7 separate regions of the Homo sapiens genome follow, and all the other regions are linked to region 5. Evidence: promoter capture Hi-C in 16 types of primary human blood cells and fetal thymus (Javierre and others, 2016). All regions are on one chromosome and are shown on one strand. Each heading gives the region's core, a stretch centred on a gene start or on the middle of the fragment in contact. The rest is flanking DNA. Distances are from core to core; before and after follow the strand shown.

Region 1 (2,700 bases), core at 53-2,552, 450 kb before region 5:
CAAGTTAATCAAGACGTTGCATTCTTCAGTGTGCAAGTGTGGAGATAAGTCAGGATGCATCTTTAGGAGATGAGGATGGATCACAGCAGTGCAACCTGTGGATACAAGAGTGTCTTGAATATGCATAAACACATTTGTTACGCCACCTAAAAGTATCTTCATAAGAACCTCTAGTGACCTTTATCAGAGAAGTATGTTAACCATTAACCAGCTGTGTGACCTCAGGCAAATTATTAAACTTGAGACAAAGCTTTCTAATTCAATGATTTAAGATATTCAGCAAGTTATCAGTAGTATTTAGAGAACCTACAGGTTCAGGAGAAAAGCAGGAAGCCTCAAGAGACCCAATCCCGGAAATAAGCACTAAAGCAGAAACAGCTTGCTTATATTAATAAGCCTGACTTCAAATATTTTCGCCACATTCTCGAAATTAACAACTCATTTTGTTCAGATGAAATTCTACCAATTAAGAGAATTGGCTTATTATTTTAAAATGTATATTATTCTGAGGGTTAAAGGGTCATTAGTCTCATATTAGTGTGAATATAGATTGCTTTTTTCTTAATAGCTGGCTGAAAAAAAAACTAAACAATGAAATGAAACCAGAAGTTGTGAAAAAAAATTTCAAATTTAACAGATATAGCCATAAAACTAATTATTACACTGAAAACATGAAGCTGAAATCCCTGAACTTAAGTTTAATTGGATCATCCACAAGGTGGAAAATTAGCAGCCAAGGTCAAAGGAAAAACATCATGGGCAGCTGTTCTTTTTTTTTTTTTTTTTTTGTAGTCAGGGGTCTTGCTATGTTGCCCAGGCTGGTTTCAAACTCCTGTCCTCAAGTGATCCTCAGCCTCCCAAAGTGTTGGGACAGGCATGAGCTACCGTGCCCCACCTGGGCTTAACCTACTCTAACTCAGAAATGATTACCAAAAGAAAGAACCGATTACCTGCTTTAATTTTTTTTAAAGTTCCAAATAGAAAACAGGAACCAACCCATATCCATTAGGATGGCTACTGCTGAAAAAAAAACAGAAAATAACAAACGCTAAAGAGGATGTGGAGAAACTGAAACTCCTGCGCACTGTGGGCGGGCATGTAAACTGGGATAGCCACTGTGGAAACTGGTATAGCAGTTCCTCAAAAAATTAAAAATGAAATTACCATATGATCCAACAATTCCACTTCCGGCTATATTTTCATAAGAATTAAATGCAGGGTTTTGAAGAGATATTTGAACACCCATGTTCACGGCATATTATTCACAATAATTAAAACATGGAAGCAACCCAAGAGTCCAACAGACAATGGATCAGCACAATGTGGTATATACATACAATGGAATACTATTCAGCCTTAAAATGGAAGGAAATTCTGGCATATGCTACAACATGGATGAAATGTGAGGACATTCTGAATGAAATAAGCCAGTCAAAAAACATATATATAGGGTTCAACATACGCAAATCAATAAATGTGATTCTCCACACAAACAGAATTAAACACAAAAACCATGTGATTATCTCAATAGATGCGAAAAAGCCTTTGATAAAATCCAACATCCCTTCATGATAAAAACCCTCAACAAACTAGGCACTGAAGAACATACCTCAAAATAAGAGCCATCTATGACAAACTCACAGCCAACATCATACTGAACAGGCAAAAGATGGAAGCATTTCCCTTGAGGACCGGAACAAGGGAACAGGATGCCCGCTCTCACCACTCCTATTCAACACAGTACTTATTTCCTAGCCAAAGCAATCAGTCAAGAGAAATAAAAGGCATCCGAATAAGAAAAGAAGTCAAACTGTCTCTCTTCACTGACGATATGATTCTATACCCAGAAAACCCTAAAGACTCTGCCAAATGACTTGAGTAGTTTCAGGATACAAGATCAACATAGAAAAATCAGTAGCACGTCTATACACTATAAGGTTCAACCTGAAAGCCAAATCAAGAATACAATCCCATTTTCAATTGCCACCAAAAAAATAAAATACCCAGGAATACATCCAACCAAGGAGGTAAAAGATCTCTACAGGAAGAACTACAAAACACTGCTGAAAGAAATCACAGATGACACAAACAAATAGAAAAACATTCCGTGCTCATGGATTGGGAGAATCAATATCACTGAAATGGCCATATTGCCCAAAGCAATCTACATATTCAACACTACTCCTATCAAACTACCAATGGCATTTTTTCACACAATTAGAAAAAACTATCCAAAAATTCATATGGAACCAAAAAGGGGCTCAAATAGCCAAAAGAATCCTAAGCAAAAAGAACAAAAACCAAACGTATCACATTACCCTACTTCAGACTATAAGGCTACAATAACCAAATCAGCAAGCTTCTCCTACAAAAACACACACATGGACCAATGGAACATAACAGCCCAGAAATAAAGCCACACACTTTTGATCTTTGACAAAGTCAACAAAAATAAGCAATGGCAAAAGGACTTCCCATTCAATAAATGGTGCTGGGATAGTTGGCTAGCTATATGCAGAAGAATAAAAGTGGACCCCTACCTTTCATCATATACAAAAATTAACTCTAGATAGATTACAGATTTACACAGAATGCCTCAAACTATAAGAATCCTAGAAGAAAACCCAGGAAACACCATTCTGGACATTCACCTTCGGAAGAGAATTAGGACTAAGTACTCAAACACAATTACAACAAAAA
Region 2 (2,700 bases), core at 67-2,566, 430 kb before region 5:
CGAATGTATTTACTGAAGACATTGTAGCTCCCTTGATTTTTCTTTATTTTTTTTTCACTTTGGCAGGTGAAGATGTTGACCTTTTTGATATGAAACAATTTAAAAATTCGTTCAAGAAAATTCTTCAGAGAGCATTAAAAAATGTAAGAATAAAATTCATCTTTTACATAAAATTCAATGTCATGACGTCTGTGCACTTAAAATTTGCTACTATCATAGTTTTTTTTTAATTTGTAAGAAATTCAGTTAGTAATAGTTCATACGGTTCTACTCCATATCAGAAACACACTGTAAATATTATGAAAACTTCCCTTTCCTCTCTCCTGTCCATTCAGGGCCTGAGGCTTCTTTTTCCAGAGGAGCTCAGTCCAACAGAGCTTTCTGCAGTGATGGAAATGCTCTGTATTGGCACTGTTCAGTTCAGCCACATGTAGCTGCTGAGCACTTGCGGCTAGTGTGACTGAGCAGCTGAATTTTTAATCTTTTTTTTTTTTTCTTTCCTTGAGACAGAGTCTTACTCTGTTGCCCAGGCTGGAGTGCAGTGGCGAGATCTCGGCTCACTGCAACTGCCTCCTGGGTTCAAGCAATTCTTCTGCCTCTGCCTCCCGAGTAGCTGGGACTACAAGCACGCACCACCATGCCCAGCTAATTTTTGTATTTTTAGTAGTGATGGGGTTTCTCCATGTTGACCAGGCTGGTCTCGAACTCCTAACCTCAGATGATCTGCCTGCCTCGGCCTCCCAAAGTGCTGGGATTACAGGTGTGAGCCACCGCACCCAGCCTGAATTTTTAATCTTTTTAAACTTCAATGATTTTTTACATTAAATAGCCACATGTAGCTAGTAGTTCCAGTAATAGTCAGTGCAAACCTGAAGCACCCTTGATTTTACAGATGTTTTTGCTTTTTTAATGTAAAACAAAGAAGCTATTCAGAATAAGACAATCTTCCATTCAAGGCAGTAGAGGCCCACTGAGCATGTGACTGGGTCCAAGCTCTATGATGCTCACTCAGGAAAGTCAGACAGCTGTGTGCCGCCATACCCTGGACTGGGGAGACTTTCTTGTCTCCTGCACTGAGGGAATTTGGAAAAGCTGCTAAAGAATGAGCAGAATTTGCTAGTGCCACTGTAACAACCCACTTTTCCTAGAACAAGATCTCAGAGGGAGGAAACAGAGACGTGGGCAAGCTGAGTGCATCTCACTCAAGTCCCTCCTTTCTAGGCTCAGAGCTTTAAAGGGAAGCTGAATCAGAGGGGAGCTGATAATCCAGGAGCAGCCTATTAAATTCCAGACCAATTGGCAACCATATTTAAAAGTTTGGAAAGGCCTGTATTTTATCCATGAAGTGGATTCAAGGTAGTACCTCTGGTCTTGCCATGTAACATTCTTTTAGAGGAGTTTTTAGCTTCTGAGCTAAATGCATAAGAGCATTAGGAATAGTATATTTTCAAGCCCATTATTACATAGAAATCTTCTTTAAGCCCATTATGACATAGAAATCTTCTTTTTCTTCTTCTTTTTGTTTTGTTTTTGTTTTTTTTTGGAAACGTGGTCTCACTCTGTTGCCCAGGCTGGAATGCACTGACATGATCTCGGCTCACTATAGTCTAGACCTCCCAGGCTCAAGCCATCCTCCCACCTCAGCCTCTTGAGTAGCTGGGACTATAGGCACATGTCACCGTGCCTGGCTTTTTTTTTTTTTTCCGGTAGATACTGAGTTTCACTATGTTGTCCAGGTTGGTCTCAAAACTCCTGGGCTCAAGCGATCCTCCTACCTCAGCCTCCCAAAGTGCTAGGATTACAGGCATAAGCCACAACACCCAGCCTAATTACATAGAAATCTTACTGTTAAAGTTTATAGCGTGTGCTAGGTCTGGGTTAGATGCTAAGAAGGCTTCATTATAAAACAAGTATCTCATTTGTAAGGCTGCCTTACCTCATAAATTCTTACGTAAGGAGGAACAGTTTTCAGGACAAGCCCAAGAAATTATTGAAAAAACAATCACCTCTACAAAAAAAAACTTTTTTAAAAAAATTAGCCAGGCATGATGGCACGTGCCTGTGGTCTCAGCTACTAGGGAGGCTGAGATGGGATTGCTTGAGCCCAGGAAGTTGAGGCTGCCGTGAGCAGGCTATGATCATGCCACAGCACTCCAGCCTGAGCAACTGAGCAAGACCTAGTCTCAAAAAAAAAAAAAGAACTGAAAAGGATTTTTTTTTTTTAAAATCACAAAATGTTTTCCCAAAGATTCTCAAAATACTCATGAAAAGCAGAAAAGACTGCCAGGTCTCAACCTGCATACAAGAGTATAGGGACATCATTGTTCACCCCTAATAAGCACCTGGAGTTGGTGCCACAGTGAAATTTTAATTAGGAAATTAAGCCTTTTTTTTTTTTCTTTAATAAGGTGACAGTCAGCTTCAGAGAAACTGAGGAGAATGCAGTCTGGATTCGAATTGCCTGGGGAACACAGTACACAAAGCCAAACCAGTACAAACCTACCTACGTGGTGTACTACTCCCAGACTCCGTACGCCTTCACGTCCTCCTCCATGCTGAGGCGCAATACACCGCTTCTGGGTCAGGTATGGAAAAAATTATTACAAGCTATAATATTTTATTATCCTATCTCAAAGGTCTATATAGATTTTAACTGTTGAATAAGTATTTGATAGAGAATACTAGGCCAGGTGCAGTGGC
Region 3 (2,700 bases), core at 70-2,569, 510 kb after region 5:
ATTGTAGGAGACTAAGGCAGCACAATGACTAAAGGTTCTGTGGGATCCCGGATTGGATGTGGGAACAGGAAAAGGAGACTGGTGGAAAACCCAGTGAAATATGAATAAGATCTGTAGTTTTAGTATTGCACCGATATTAATTTCTTAGTTTTGATACTTGTACTGTGGTTGTGCGAGATGTTAACACTGTGGAGTCTAGGTGGTTGGGGTATGTGAGAACATTGTACTATTACTGTACCTTTTTTGTAAGCTTAAGCTTCCAACATAAAACAATTTAAAAGGTATTGGTGGGGGAAAAACTTTATTTTTTTGTGTATTTTTCCCCCCAACAAACAGGAGAAAAACTAAAGGCAGAGAGTGCCATAAAGATTTTGTCTCAGGCCAGGTAAAACTTATTACCAAAAGCTTCATTTTCTAATAAAACAAACTAAATTTTTAAGTGAAAACTCAGACTCAAAAGAAATCCAGGAAATAAGTATCACAAAATGCTTTCTCTTGACTAGAGTGGTGGTTCCTCAAGTCAAGAGGGCTGGTTCATTTGCTGTAGAGTTATTCACTAAACTGTTTCTATCTTTTACGTTCTTTTCTGAATGTGCATTATATCTCATATATATACAGTGTACCCAGGACTACAGTATGTAATATAGCTGCAAATATTTTGGCACTCAGGAAAGGTGATAAAGGGTTGCAGTTATAGAAGCATTCATAGAAAAGGTGAATTTTGAACTTGCGCCCGAATAACAAATACCCATTATATAGAATAAAACAACAGAAGCCATTTTCTTCTAGGTGCAGAAAAGGGAAAGAGAGACCTTTCATGGTATAGTATTAAGACTTAAATGGGGTTTTCATTTTGCTTTATTTTTTGAGACAGGGTCTCATTGTCTTGCCCAGGCTGGAGTACAGTGGCATGATCGTGGCTCACTGCAGCCTTAACCTCCTGGGCTCATGTGATCTTACCCTCTCAGCCTCCTGAATAGCTGGGAGTACAGGGTATGCCACCATGCCTGGCTAATTTCTTTCATTTTTTATAGTAACAGGGTCCCGCTATGTTGCCCAGGCTGGTCTTGAACTCCTGGTCAAGCAATCCTCCCACCTCAGCCTCCCAAAGTGCTGGGGATTACATGCCTGAGGCACTGCGCCCGGCGACTTGATTCTTTTCTTTTCTTTTTCCTTTTCTCTGAACTTTATTCTGTAAAATTTTACTTTAAGTTCCAGGATACAAGTGCAGGACGTGTAGGTTTGTTACATAGGTATACGTGTGCCATGGTGGTTTGCTGTACTCGTCAACCTGTCATCTAGGTTTTAAGTCCCACATGCATTCCCCATCCGCCAACTAGCCATGGTGTGTGTTGTTGCCCTCCCTGTGTCCTCATTGTTCAACTCCCACTTATGAGTGAGAACATATGGTATTTGGTTTTCCATTCCTGTGTTAGTTTGCTGGCTGAGGATGATGGCTTCCAGCTTCATCCATGTCCCTGCAAAGGACATTACTTCATTCATTTTTGTGGCTGCATAGTATTCCATGGTGTATATGTACCACATTTTCTTTATCTAGTCTATCACTGATGGGCATTTGGGTTGGTTCCATGTCTTTGCTGTTGTACATGGTGCTGCAGTAAACTTACATGTGCGTGGGTCTTTATAGTAGAATGATTTATATTCCTTTGGGTACATACCCAGTAATGGGATTGCTGGGTCAAATGGTATTGCTGGTTCTAGATCCTTGAGGAACCACCATACTGTCTTCCACAATGGTTGAACTAATTTTCATTCCCACCGACAGTGTAAAAGTGTTCCTATTTCTCCACAGCCTCGCCAGCATCTATTGTTTCCTGACTTTTTAATATGCTTTATTCTTAATAGGGAGGAAAGTCATTACTAAGTGAAGTCATTACTGACTCTTCCCAATGCCTCACTTGATACATTCACTTAATCACCAAGGACAGCCCATTTTACCTCTGCTTACTCTTCAACCTTTGCAAACAGCTGGAATAATCATCTTCTGTCCCCCTTCTCCAAAGTCACAGTTCCAGCTGTTACCCTGGGGACTGTTTTGTTAGGTCATTAAAGGAGGAAAAAACCTTGCAGAGTATGGTCTGAGTCCGTGTTTTTCTAAAAGTAAATGACAAAGGATCTTGTTTGTGCACCTCAACAGATGTTTTTGTAGCACAGGAGTCTTTCACTTGAACTCCATCGGGAAAGGCCAATTGACTTGACCCTCCTGCAAAGCCAAGCTTCACAGAGTAGTCAGGGATCCTCTGAAACAGATGAGGCAAAACATCCTCATCCTCCCCCTGCATTGAAACCCAAACTCCCTACCCTGAGTGGCTTTTGTCTTTTTTTCTCCCCTAGCGTAATGGACTATTTTGGTTCCTGCAACTGAAAAGTTTAGGGGTAGGTCTTGTTTCAGTCATGGCTGAATCTCTGTGCTCACTCAGTGGCTGTTTTCCTCTTTTTCTGGCACATTCCAAACTTCTTGACTCAATAGCAACGTGGCCATGACAGGACCACACTTACTCTTTCAGCTGATCCCAAGAAAAGAAACTCTACCAAGAGCACCAACGAAAGTCCCACGGATGCGTCTAGTTGGCCTTGCTTGGGTCATGTGCCTGGAGGTTGTACTGGTGGGGGAAGTAGAAATCATTACTGGCTACAGGTGAGGCACATGCCCATCTCTGCAAGATGTAATTTATGATA
Region 4 (2,700 bases), core at 74-2,573, 410 kb before region 5:
ACACCAATTTGCTGATTCCAAGGATTTTAGGAATTGCATGCCAGGACAAAGACCAAATATATACTTCACATTATCACAGTTATCTTGCAAGGCAAAGGGACTTGGCAGTTGGAGAAATTATCCTGGATGATTTGAATGGGCCCAATGTCATCACAGGGGGCCTCAAGAATAGAAGAATCAGAGGGATCACTACTGAAGAAATCAGAGTGATGTGATGTGACGAAGACTCAACTCACCGTTACTGATTCTGGAGATGGAGGAAGGGTCCGCAAGCCAAGGAATGTAGGCAACCTCTAGAAGCTGGGAAAGGCAAGTGAACAGATTCTCCCCTGGAGCCTTGGGAAGGAATACAGCCCTGCTGACACCTTGATCTTAGCCCAGCAGTCTCATTTCTTTTGACCTCCAGAGCTGGAAGATAATAAATTTGTGTTAAGGCAGTAAGTTTGTGGTAATTTATTAATAGCAAGAGAAAACGAATATAGCTGCTAGTATGTAAAAGGTGGAAATTTTCACATAAAACTCTAGCCATACCAAAGATGAGTAGCAGCTGCCCCCTTTTAATAAAGGATGTGTTTCCAATTTCACTGCAGTCCTCACCCCTCCCTTTTGTCTACCCCAGCCTCCTATGTCCATTTACATGAACTACCCAGTCTAAGTATTAAGTTTTGTAATCGTATACTGAACTGCAGTGTCTCCCAAACAGTAATCCTAATTTCAGCAGCTAAAATAGAAGCAAGCAAATCCAGCCTTCTTAAAATGATTAATCCTATCAATAATAACAATCTTTTCATTTGTATAGTGTGGTCTAGGTCAAGTTACTTAATTTATATAAGCCTAAATGTCCTTCTCTGCACAAGGTGGGGCAAGTTACAGTACATACCCGCTACAGTCGTTTTGAAGACAAAATGAGACACAGCATGAAAAGTGCATCCACCAGACCCACCTGGTACCCAGTAAGGCCTAGGTAATAAACAACGGCGGAAATCAGTGTACTTCTGCCTCACCTGCCACTAGACATTTGGGTTGTTTCTAATCTTTGGGAAGTAAACGCATTGCTCAACGTATTGCTTTTTCTTTTATGTGACTACTGCCTGAAGTCACTTTCCTAGGAAGAATGGATCGATTAGAGAGGCGGGGCAATACCTTTTACCTGCTGGCAGGTGAAATTTCGCCTCCTGGCGGCGTCACCTAAAGTCCTCTCCCTCCAAGGCGCGCCCTCCGCGGCCGGCAGGGGGCGCCGCGGCCGCCTGGGCCCGCCGGATGCTAACAAGCCTGGCGGCCTCGCCCCCTGCCGGAAGTGGCTGCGGCGGGGGCGGGGCCTACGAACTGGGCCGGGCGGCCGTGCGGGAGCCATGGCGGCCTCGGAGGCGGCGGCGGCGGCGGGGTCCGCGGCTCTGGCGGCGGGTGCCCGGGCCGTCCCGGCGGCCACGACAGGAGCCGCCGCCGCCGCCTCGGGCCCGTGGGTGCCCCCGGGACCCCGACTGAGGGGCAGCCGGCCGCGGCCCGCGGGGGCGACGCAGCAGCCCGCTGTCCCCGCGCCGCCGGCGGGGGAGCTGATCCAGCCGTCGGTGAGCGAGCTGTCCCGGGCCGTGCGGACCAACATCCTGTGCACCGTGCGCGGCTGCGGCAAGATCCTGCCCAACAGCCCCGCGCTCAACATGCACCTAGTCAAGAGCCACCGCCTGCAGGTGAGCCCGACGCGGCCGGCGGCCCGGGGGGCCGGGCCTGGCTCCAACAAAGCGCCCGGCGCCGGCGCGCGAAGCCGGCCTCGGGGGGACGAGCGCCCTGCGCGCTGCCGCTGCCGCTGCCCCACCGGCCTCTGCCCTCCCCGGCCGGAGGCGGCTCTCGAACCCTCGCGGCAGGCGCCGCAGGTGCGGCCTCTGGGGGGGAGGAGGAGCTGGGAGCCCCGGGTCCGCCGTACGCGCCAGTTCCCTGGTTCCCTGGCTCCCTGGCCCCGAGTGTCGTGCCGGACGCCGGCCCAGGCTTTTTACACTTTTTTGCCTGTGAGTTCTTAACGGCGTTTTGGCGAGGGACGCATCGTCTCCATTATATTAATGAGAAACAGATTATGCAACCTAGATGATGCGGGGCTTTAAACCGGGGCCTCTGGTTCTAAAGCCCTGTGCTTGCCACGACACCCACAATGCCGCCCTTGGGTCCTGCCCAGTGGACTGTATGTGCCACAATAACTAGAAGAGAGGGTTTTAAATGTTCTCACCACCAAGAGACAATACGTTTGAGGTCGAGGACATGTTAAACACTCTGACTTGATCACTATGCAATGTATATGTCCATCCATGCTGCACACCGCACCCCATCAGTAGGAATAATTACTGTGTGTCGATTATGAATAAAAAAATGTTTTAAAGGAGCGGTAGGTTTGCCTCTAAACACCATCAGTCAGTTTCACGGTGTTGGTAAGATCAGCTCAGGACTGAGACCTAAGGGAAATTGCCCCTGTGGCTCTTCTTTAAGAGGGGGACACAGTAAATACACCATGACAATAGTCTCAACAACCCTCCACGTTATGCAAAACAGGGCAGTCATTTTCAACCTTGGGACACATCTGTGACAAGCTTATTAAAAATCCAGATGTCCAGCCCCACCCCGGACCTGTTAAGTCACAATCTCTCAGTCATTACAATGGCAAGTTTCCTTCCACCACTCTAGGCCAGCAGTGACATAATTCAAAAGCGCAAG
Region 5 (2,700 bases), core at 152-2,651:
AGCTAAGGAATTTCTAACTTTCTAATCTAATTGTGCCTCCCCAAGGAGGCATCTCCTGGGCAGGCTGGATGTGAGTCTTCTTTCCTTGGTGAGGGATGCAGCCTGGGACCTGCCTTTCATCCCCTGCCTGAAACCCTGGCCAGGCTCGGGGAGAGGGTCCTCTGGGGAGCACCTTCATGCTGCCTGTTCTTGGGAGAGGGGGGGTGAATAATTTCCACCAACGGCACAGATGCTGTGGATATTCCGCAGTGTTCACGACGCAGTTCAACACACGCTGCACACATTCATGTGTTCACTACAGAGGCGCCTTCACTTAAAAAGGCAAAAATCTAGGGTTTTAACGTTATTAGCTGCAGGAGCACGTGGAGATAAGAAAACCTGGCTGAGGAGCTGAGCATTTGCTAGGTGGCCTTAGGTGCCGGCTGCTTGTGATGGCAGAAAGGGAGCTTTTTGCATCCAGGCTGCAGTTCCTGATACCCTGGGTCACAAGAGAATCGAATATGGTTCTCTCGTGGGCTGGTGCTGGGCCTGTGAACTCAGATAAAATGACCAGGTGGGGTCCCAGGGAAGGTGAAGTAGGGGGAGCTGCTGGGGTGCGCACAAGAGGGGTGGCTGTGTAGGTTGGGGGGTGCTTTAAGTGGGTTCCTAGAAGAGGCTCTGTCTCCCTGGGCAGAAGAAAGAAGGGGGATGGGCGGACCGTCCCCTCTCTCCAGAAGGTTTGAGGACCCCCAAGGCCAAAGCCAGCAGACGTCAAAGGCCAGGAGTTCGAGGCCGGCTGGGTCCCGCAGTGGGAGACAGGGCAGGGTGGGCTCATCCTCCGGATCACCGCGGGGACACTTTCAGTCGGGAAGGCGTCCCCGTCCCACGGCCCCATCTGGCCAGCCCGCTGGACAGCCTGGACAGCGGAGGGGGCGTCAGGGGTCGAGGGTTCCAGTCCCCGTCCTTCCACCCAGCCCCCGGCCCTCGGGTATCCTTCTTTACCCGTCCGAGTCCGGCCCGGGGGCGGCGGGGGTGGGTGAGGCGCGGGCCCCCAGGCTCCGGCAGCCTGGCTGGGCTCCCGCCCGGGCACCCGCGGGGGCGCGGCTGGCGTGACGTCACGCGCCCCGCCCCCGCGCCCCGCCCCCTCCCCACATTCCAGGCGGGGCGGGCCGGGACCCCGCGGGGCTCGCCCGCCCCAGCCCCCTCCCCAGGGGCTGCCCCTCCCGTCGGGCCGCGCCTCCCCGTCGTGGGCCGCGACCCCGCCCGGACCGCGGACTCCGCCCGCGAGAGGCCGAAGCCGCCGCGGCCGCCGCCGTTGCCGCCATTGACGTCAGAGGGGCGGGCACATGACCCTGCGGGGACCAATCGCGCGGGCGCCCCGGGCTCCGGGAGCCCGGCGCGCGGCCCGCCCCGCCCGCGGCCACTCTCGCCCGGACGGCCGCGCGGACACACGCTCTGTACACACGCGCGCGGCGGCGCGGGGCCCCGAGACACGCCCGCCCCCACCCCGCCGCCCCCACCCCGGCGCCCGCCCTCCGCGCCTGGCCCCGGCCCGCCCTCGGCCTCCCCCGCCCCTCCCCGTCGCCCGCCGAGCCCGGTCAGCCGCCGCGAGCATGCACCCGACGAGCTAGGAGGAAGCCCGGAGCCCCGCAGGAAGCGCCGAGGCCGGCCCAGCCCGCCGCACGCGCCGCCCCCCGCGGGCAGCGCCCCCTCCCCTGCGGGCGCCCCCAGCCCCACACCCCCCCACCTTCCCGGGGGGTGGGGGGGTGCGGGCCGCCGGATCCGGGGGCCCCGCCGCCCCAGCAGCCCAGGACAGCCCCCTCTCCCCGCCCCCAGCCCCCTCCCCCGGCGCGGCCATGGATGTGACCAGCAGCTCGGGCGGCGGCGGCGACCCCCGGCAGATCGAGGAGACCAAGCCGCTGCTGGGGGGCGACGTGTCGGCCCCCGAAGGCACGAAGATGGGCGCCGTGCCCTGCCGCCGGGCTCTTCTGCTTTGCAACGGGATGAGGTACAAACTGCTGCAGGAGGGCGACATTCAGGTCTGTGTCATCCGGCACCCGCGGACCTTTCTCAGCAAGATCCTCACCTCGAAATTCCTGAGGCGCTGGGAGCCGCACCACCTAACGCTGGCCGACAACAGCCTGGCGTCCGCCACGGTGAGTGGCTCTGCGCGGCTGCACCCCCGCCTCTCCTCGGGGCCCGAGATGCGCCCTCCCTGGCTGCCCCCTGGCGCTGCACCTGGAGCCCAGGGCCTGGGGGGCGGTGGGGGGTGCCGGGGGAACGGGGAGAACCAGGGCGCCTCGCTCCTGGCCTGCTCGCGGGGCTCGATTTTGGAGTCTGAAGCCCAAACCAGCCGACCGGGCTCAGGAGAGACCCTTAAAATGCTGGAGACTCGGCCCACCGCCAGGCTGGGTGCCTGGGGACCTTCTGCCCCCAGCTCTTGTGTTTCTGGTGGCTGGGACTCGAGGATGGACCCGACGCTGGGCCCTGATGGTGGTGGGGGTTCTCTCTGGAAGCCCCTGGCCCATCTGGATCTGAGGGGTGGGGGAGGGGAAAACAAAATACCACCCCTCAGATTTAAAAAAAAAAACAAACAACACAACAAAACCTCCAAACCCCCAAACCCAAAGAATTTCCAGAAGCCAGTTTCTCTGTTTGGTTTACCCGTCCTTTATTCTCTTTCCTGCCAGGGCTGGCAGGCAGAACGGGGTGCTTCCCTTT
Region 6 (2,700 bases), core at 191-2,690, 440 kb after region 5:
AGTAAAGGGAGAAAGCTCAGGGCATGTTTCATCTCTTACACTATTTGAAATAGACCTCTTTTCCCCAGGCTCCTGCAAGTGCTCAGGGAAACATACCCATTACCCTGGGAAGCCCCGTGTAGCAGAATGTACTCCCCATCCAACCCGGGGGTGGCTCGTGCTGGCCCAGTGAGGCCCTGTTTTTCTGGTGGCCTGCTGGCCAAGGCGGGAGTCCTGCCTTTATTCGGAGTGTAGTGTTCCCTAGTGTTCCCTACCTGATACCTAACCTCTGCTTGGTCCAGGGAAGTGTCTTTCACACTGCAGTTAATTTTGCCCTGATGGCCTGGAGTCTGGTGGGGCCTCATGTGGCTCCCACTCCAGAGCACTCAATGACCCAGGGAACTCTGGATCGTGGCTTCTGAGGAGGCCCTTGGGTCTGGCTCCTGTCCTTTCTCCAACACCAGCTCTCCCTCTACGGGCGGGTGGTGTGTCGAGCCCTGTCTGGGTATTGGATAGGCACACTCACATCCCTGTGTTCCCCACACCTTTTGCTCTGCAATCCCTCCCTCTGGCCTGCGTTCCCTCGCTCCTACTCCTCTTTCTTTCCTCCCCTCCCTTCTCTTTTTTCCTCGAGGCCGCTGCTTCTCTGGTTTCCTTGCCAGGTACTCTCTGCACCTCCTTCTTGCTCACCCCACCTCATTCTTGCTCACCCCACCTCATTCTGGCTCACCCCACCTCGTTCTGGCTCATCCCACCTCACTCTCTGGAGCTCAAGTAGGTGCCTTTTCCTCAGGAAAGCCCCTCTGGTCCTCCAGGTCTGGGTTTGGGGCCTTCTCAGCCATTCCCACTCTTCCCCTCCCTTCCCACCCTCATCTCTTGCTACACTGTATCCCATATGCCTGGTTCACCTGTCTTCCCCATGGCCACACTCCTGGAGGGGCTCCTCAGACTCTGGGGTGCACCAGAGCTATTTTGGAGCAGCTAAATGTAGACACCAGGGCCTGCCCCTTGAGATTCCGATGTCAGGGTCCCTCTGAATCCTTGTAGGTGAGGGACATTGTGTCACTCACCTGTGTCTTCCTGTTGGCCAACCTGGTACCTAACACAGTGCCAGACTAAGTGGGGCGTTCTGGGTGGCAGGCTGCCCCATTGGCTGGCATCTCCTCTCGACTCCTCTGTTGAATGTGTCTGTCTCTAACTGCACCCCCTTTCCCCGAGGATAGGAACACTGACAGGCCGGATGCCTCTGCTGTTTACCTGCATGACTTCCAGAGGTTTCTCATACATGAACAGCAGGTGAGAGCACAAGGTGTGTGGGTGCCTGAGGGAGCTGGCGGGATGCTGCTGGGGACTAGTCTCACCCTTCTGCCGCCTGTGCTCACCTGGTCACCTGTGCTCACCTGGCCACCTGTGCTCACCTGGCCACCTGTCTTCATGGAACGATTGCAGTCTGCCAGATGCCAGAGACTTCAGATTGCTGTCTGATGCCACTGAAACTCTGGATGAGAAGAGCCTCATGTCGGGCCTCTTTTGAAGGCACACATTGAGGATGAGAAGACTGAGAAGATGGCAGGGCAGGAGGGGTGAGGGCCTGAGGATGGGGCTGCCCTCACCTGGCTGGGTGCACCTTTTCTGGCCATCATCTCAGGTGTCACTGCCTGGGAAGCCTTCCTTGACTGATGGGAGGATGGGATCAGATTCATCAAGCCTGCCAGGTCCCCTGGGAGATAAACTAGCACAGCTTTCCTTAAACAGGTGATGCCTGGGACAGTCTCCCTGGACAGGGTTTGCCTGTGGGCTCTGAGCCCAGCTATAGACTCAAGGGGGGGTTGTGTTGCGCCTTGGTTTTCCACTGCTGTGACGATGCCCCCAGAGGACACTGGGCAGTGTCCAGAGACGACATGGGTGCGTGTCACAGCGGGAGGCTGCTGCCGGCATCTAGCAGGTCAACACCAGGGATGTTCCTAAATATCCTACATTGCACAGGGCAGCCCCCCCTACCCCCCAGCGAAGAAGTATTCAGGGCCGGGTAGGGTGGCTCACGCCTATAATCCCAGCACTTTGGGAGGCCGAGGCGGGCGGATCACTTGAAGCCAGGAGTTCGAGACCTACCTGGCCAACATGGTGAAACCCCATCTCTACTAAAAATACAAAAATTAGGCAGGCATTGTGGTGGGTGCCTGTAATCCCAGCTACCTGGGAGGCTGAGGCAGGAGAATGGCTTGAACCTGGGAGGTAGAGGTTGCAGTGAGCCGAGATTGCGCCACTGGACTGCAGCCTGGGCAACAGAGCAAGACTCCGTCTCAGAAAACAAAAAACAAAAACACCCCCACCCCACCAAAAAAAAAAAAGTCAAAGAAGTATTCAGCACCAAGTACCTACAGTGCTGAGGACAAGAAACTCTGTGAGAGTGAGATCAACTTGAAATCATCTTACCAGCTGCACAGCCACCGACAGGTGGTTTACCCTTTTTGTGCCCCAGTTTCCCCCTCTTTAAGTGGGATTGAGAGCATCTACCTCTGAGAATTGTGGGGATCAGAGTCAATTGTATGGATCTGTGTGTGTGTGTGTGTGTACATGTATGCATGTCTTTTCACATATAAATCTCAAATTTTTGTTTATATCATTGGAGTTCCATTTACTTTTTTCTTTTACTTCATTTGTTTTTTTTTAAATAGAGTTTATATTTTAGAGTAGTTTTAGGGTTGCAGCAAAAATAAG
Region 7 (2,700 bases), core at 100-2,599, 460 kb after region 5:
TGCGAGGGAGAATGTTCTGTGAGTTTTGAGCTCTAGCCCACAAGGTGACTCAGGGACCCGGGGCCCCCGCATTCTGCTCTAGCATCTCTCAGGGCAGCAGTTTTCAACTGGGGTTTCACAGACCCCCGAAGAATCCACGGTTAGAATCAGAGGGGCACGTGAACTTCAACAGAAAAAAAATTACATCTTTATTTGTTTAACCTGTACATAAAACTTAATACTTCCTTCCATTGTGAACATTGGCAGCAAGCCACTTGCGGGCTCTGTCACCAGCAGAAGTCATGAGTGTTTTCATATCCCGTTTACAGTTATTGCAAATATTTCAAAATAATGTTGTGCTCGTCATCACTTTGGAATTATGGAGGTTATTAGGTCTGCCTCTAGATCTTATTTAAGATGTTAATGAAGAAACCCATCTTTTAGTGTATTGCAAATATTTATTTAATATCTTAATCATGTTTCAATATAATTGAGTTTCCTTTGTAATTTTATGCATTATTATTCTGAGAAAAGGGTCTGTAGCTTTCCCCAGATTTTGAAGGAGCTCATTACACAAAAACGGTGAAGGGACTTTGCTTTGTCCTTGTTTATGTGGTGGACGCTTGGTCTCAGGCACATCCGAGTTCCAGCTCAGAGCACGGGAAGTCCAAGGGTGTCCAGGGCAAATGGTTTCTGGTAAGCAAGTCAGCTGTCCCGTCCTTTTCTCTACTGTTCTGTGCATGAGAGCTTAGTCACGTTACCTGCAAGGACTGTGGAATCTGAAGTCCCTAGCGGGGCAGCCTTTCATGGAAGGAGCGAGTGTGAATTTTGTTGACATTCCACGAGCTCATGGGGAAGGACAAACAGCTGTTTCCTAGGTATTTCAGTCTGTTCCTGCAGCTATCACAAAATACCCTAAGCTGGGTGGGTTATAAACAACAGGAACTGATTTCTCACGGTTCTGGAGGCTGGAAGTTCAAGGTCAGGGTGCTGGTATGAGAGTCCTCTTCCAAGTTGTAGGCTGCCGACTTCTAGTTGTGTCCTCACATGGTGGAAAGGGTGAGGCAGCTCTCTGGGACCTCTTTTATTTTTAAATATTTATTTATTTATAAATAACCATCTGGGACATGGAGATATCTTTGGCCTCTTTTATAAGGGCACCATTCCCATTGTTGAGAGCTCTACCCTCATTCCCATTCACTGGAGCTCTACTCTCATTCCCACTTATGAGAGCTCTACCCTCATTCCCATTCATAAAAGCTCTACCCTCATTCCCGTTCATGAGGACTCTACCCTCATGACCTAATCACCTTCTGTGTTACCCATTCTCACACTGCTCATAAAGACATACCCAAGACTGGGTAATTTATAAAGGAAAGAGGTTTAATGGACTCACAGTTCCATATGGCTGGGGAGGCCTCACAATCATGTCAGAAGGCAAAGGAGGAGCAAAGTCACATCTTACATGGTGGCAGGCAAGAGAGCTTGTTCAGGGAAACTCCCATTTATAAAACCAGATCTCATGAGATGTGTTCACTATCACAAGAACAGCACGTGAAAGGCCCGCCCCCATGATTCAATTACCTCCCACTGGGTTCCTCCTATGACACGTGGGAATTATAGGAGCTGCAATTCAAGGTGAGATTTGGGTGGGGACACAGCCAAACCATATTACCTTCCAAAGCTACCATCTCCAAATACCATTACATTGGGGATTAGGTTTCAACATATAAATTTTGGGAGGACACAGACATTCAGACCATAGCAGTAGGCAGAGAAGGGGGATGTCCTTCCAGGTTGGGACAATAGGACACACAAGGGTGTGGTGGTGTCAACACGTGGCATGTACCCTATATTATCACTGGGCCACCAAGATACATTGGACACAATCCTTATGTTCCAGGAAGTCGTGGTTTGGTAGGGAGACAAACCCGTCAACAGAGAAACACCAAACAGTGCAAGGAGCTTTGGCCAAGCACAACCAGAGGAGGGGATGTTGGTGCCCCCATGGGTAAGAGCATCAGTGCACGGGGAGTGTTTGGCCAAGACTGTGACCCTTAAGGTACAGATGTTTGCCTAAGCGGGAGATCAGCTGTCATTGTCTTAGTCTTGCAGATGAGAAGTGTGAGGCCTGGAGAAGTGCAGCCACCTGGCTGGGGTCACAAGTTAACAAAATAGCTGCAGCACTGTTTGCACCCAGGCAGTTGTTTCGGAGATGCCAAGGGATGCTTCCAGCACGGTGAAGGCAGGATAAGGGGTGGAGGGAGCTCGGCCATGGAGGGTCCATGGCTTCTCAGGCACCTAGTTGGTGAGTCTTCGGGGCAGCCTGGTTGCATGTGCTCTTCCCTGTTCCCAGCTCATTCCTTCTGTTTCCATTAGGATGGCTTGCTGCCTGTTCCCAGGGAGTTTTCAGCTCTTGTTCTAAGATGCAAAGTACTGAAGGCCCCTTTTAGAGCACCCTCTGCCCCACACCTGATACGCTGTGGCCCACTTCTTTCTATTTCAAGAAATGAGGTGGAAATAGCGTTGGCCACACGGTCACTTTGTACCATGCACTTGGCTAGGCGTGGTCATATGTATCTTCTTATTCAGTCTTGTCAAGACACTGCAGGACGAATAACCTCAGCCCTTGCCCACTTTACAGATGTGGACATTGAGATTCAGAGGTTAAATAGCTCAGCCAGGGTCACACATTTAGTATTTGCTGAGGAAATTATTCAA

What was found. Contacts are between HindIII fragments. The CHiCAGO score rates a contact against its expected background, and 5 or more counts as called.
Region 1: a fragment that was not itself captured here is called in contact with the fragment with the promoter of CMIP in region 5 in 1 of 17 cell types (neutrophils); the score reaches 5.5 in neutrophils.
Region 2: a contact is called between a fragment that was not itself captured here and the fragment with the promoter of CMIP in region 5, in 1 of 17 cell types (neutrophils). The highest score is 5.5, in neutrophils.
Region 3: a fragment that was not itself captured here is called in contact with the fragment with the promoter of CMIP in region 5 in 1 of 17 cell types (total B cells); the score reaches 7.0 in total B cells.
Region 4: the fragment with the promoter of ATMIN here is called in contact with the fragment with the promoter of CMIP in region 5 in 2 of 17 cell types (naive CD8 T cells and naive CD4 T cells); the score reaches 9.1 in naive CD8 T cells.
Region 6: a contact is called between a fragment that was not itself captured here and the fragment with the promoter of CMIP in region 5, in 8 of 17 cell types (neutrophils, naive B cells, total B cells and 5 more). The highest score is 18.5, in neutrophils.
Region 7: a fragment that was not itself captured here is called in contact with the fragment with the promoter of CMIP in region 5 in 3 of 17 cell types (neutrophils, total B cells and naive B cells); the score reaches 8.5 in neutrophils.

The regions. Positions count from the first base shown.
Region 1 is chr16:80,997,335-81,000,034 of GRCh38, forward strand. CMC2 (C-X9-C motif containing 2) reads right to left here. Exons shown (of 4, transcript NM_020188.5): 2 at 1-95. The coding sequence starts at 60. Among named protein-coding and RNA genes, the nearest start is that of CMC2, 8.2 kb to the right of the region's middle. RefSeq lists an enhancer at 1,460-2,026. The HindIII fragment of the contact is 2,109 bases long and covers 249-2,357 here.
Region 2 is chr16:81,017,692-81,020,391 of GRCh38, forward strand. CENPN (centromere protein N) reads left to right here. Exons shown (of 11, transcript NM_001100624.3): 5 at 67-143; 6 at 2,409-2,585. CENPN-AS1 (CENPN antisense RNA 1) reads right to left here. Exons shown (of 4, transcript XR_007065134.1): 4 at 2,601-2,700. Among named protein-coding and RNA genes, the nearest start is that of CENPN, 12 kb to the left of the region's middle. The HindIII fragment of the contact is 3,405 bases long and covers 1-2,700 here.
Region 3 is chr16:81,953,174-81,955,873 of GRCh38, forward strand. All of the region lies in intron 31 of PLCG2 (phospholipase C gamma 2), which reads left to right. Among named protein-coding and RNA genes, the nearest start is that of SDR42E1, 57 kb to the right of the region's middle. The HindIII fragment of the contact is 1,832 bases long and covers 404-2,235 here.
Region 4 is chr16:81,034,519-81,037,218 of GRCh38, forward strand. ATMIN (ATM interactor) reads left to right here and starts at 1,324. Exons shown (of 4, transcript NM_015251.3): 1 at 1,324-1,688. The coding sequence starts at 1,353. CENPN-AS1 (CENPN antisense RNA 1) reads right to left here. Exons shown (of 4, transcript XR_007065134.1): 1 at 2,219-2,700; 2 at 237-408. RefSeq lists silencers at 1,144-1,433, 1,644-1,993. The HindIII fragment of the contact is 2,725 bases long and covers 1-2,574 here.
Region 5 is chr16:81,443,407-81,446,106 of GRCh38, forward strand. It overlaps CMIP (c-Maf inducing protein), which reads left to right and starts at 1,402. Exons shown (of 21, transcript NM_198390.3): 1 at 1,402-2,135. The coding sequence starts at 1,836. RefSeq lists an enhancer at 243-775 and silencers at 985-1,084, 1,195-1,544, 1,615-1,664, 2,095-2,394. The HindIII fragment of the contact is 9,361 bases long and covers 1-2,700 here.
Region 6 is chr16:81,882,067-81,884,766 of GRCh38, forward strand. PLCG2 (phospholipase C gamma 2) reads left to right here. Exons shown (of 33, transcript NM_002661.5): 9 at 1,203-1,275. Among named protein-coding and RNA genes, the nearest start is that of PLCG2, 100 kb to the left of the region's middle. The HindIII fragment of the contact is 5,892 bases long and covers 1-2,700 here.
Region 7 is chr16:81,901,415-81,904,114 of GRCh38, forward strand. All of the region lies in intron 14 of PLCG2 (phospholipase C gamma 2), which reads left to right. Among named protein-coding and RNA genes, the nearest start is that of SDR42E1, 110 kb to the right of the region's middle. The HindIII fragment of the contact is 6,358 bases long and covers 1-2,700 here.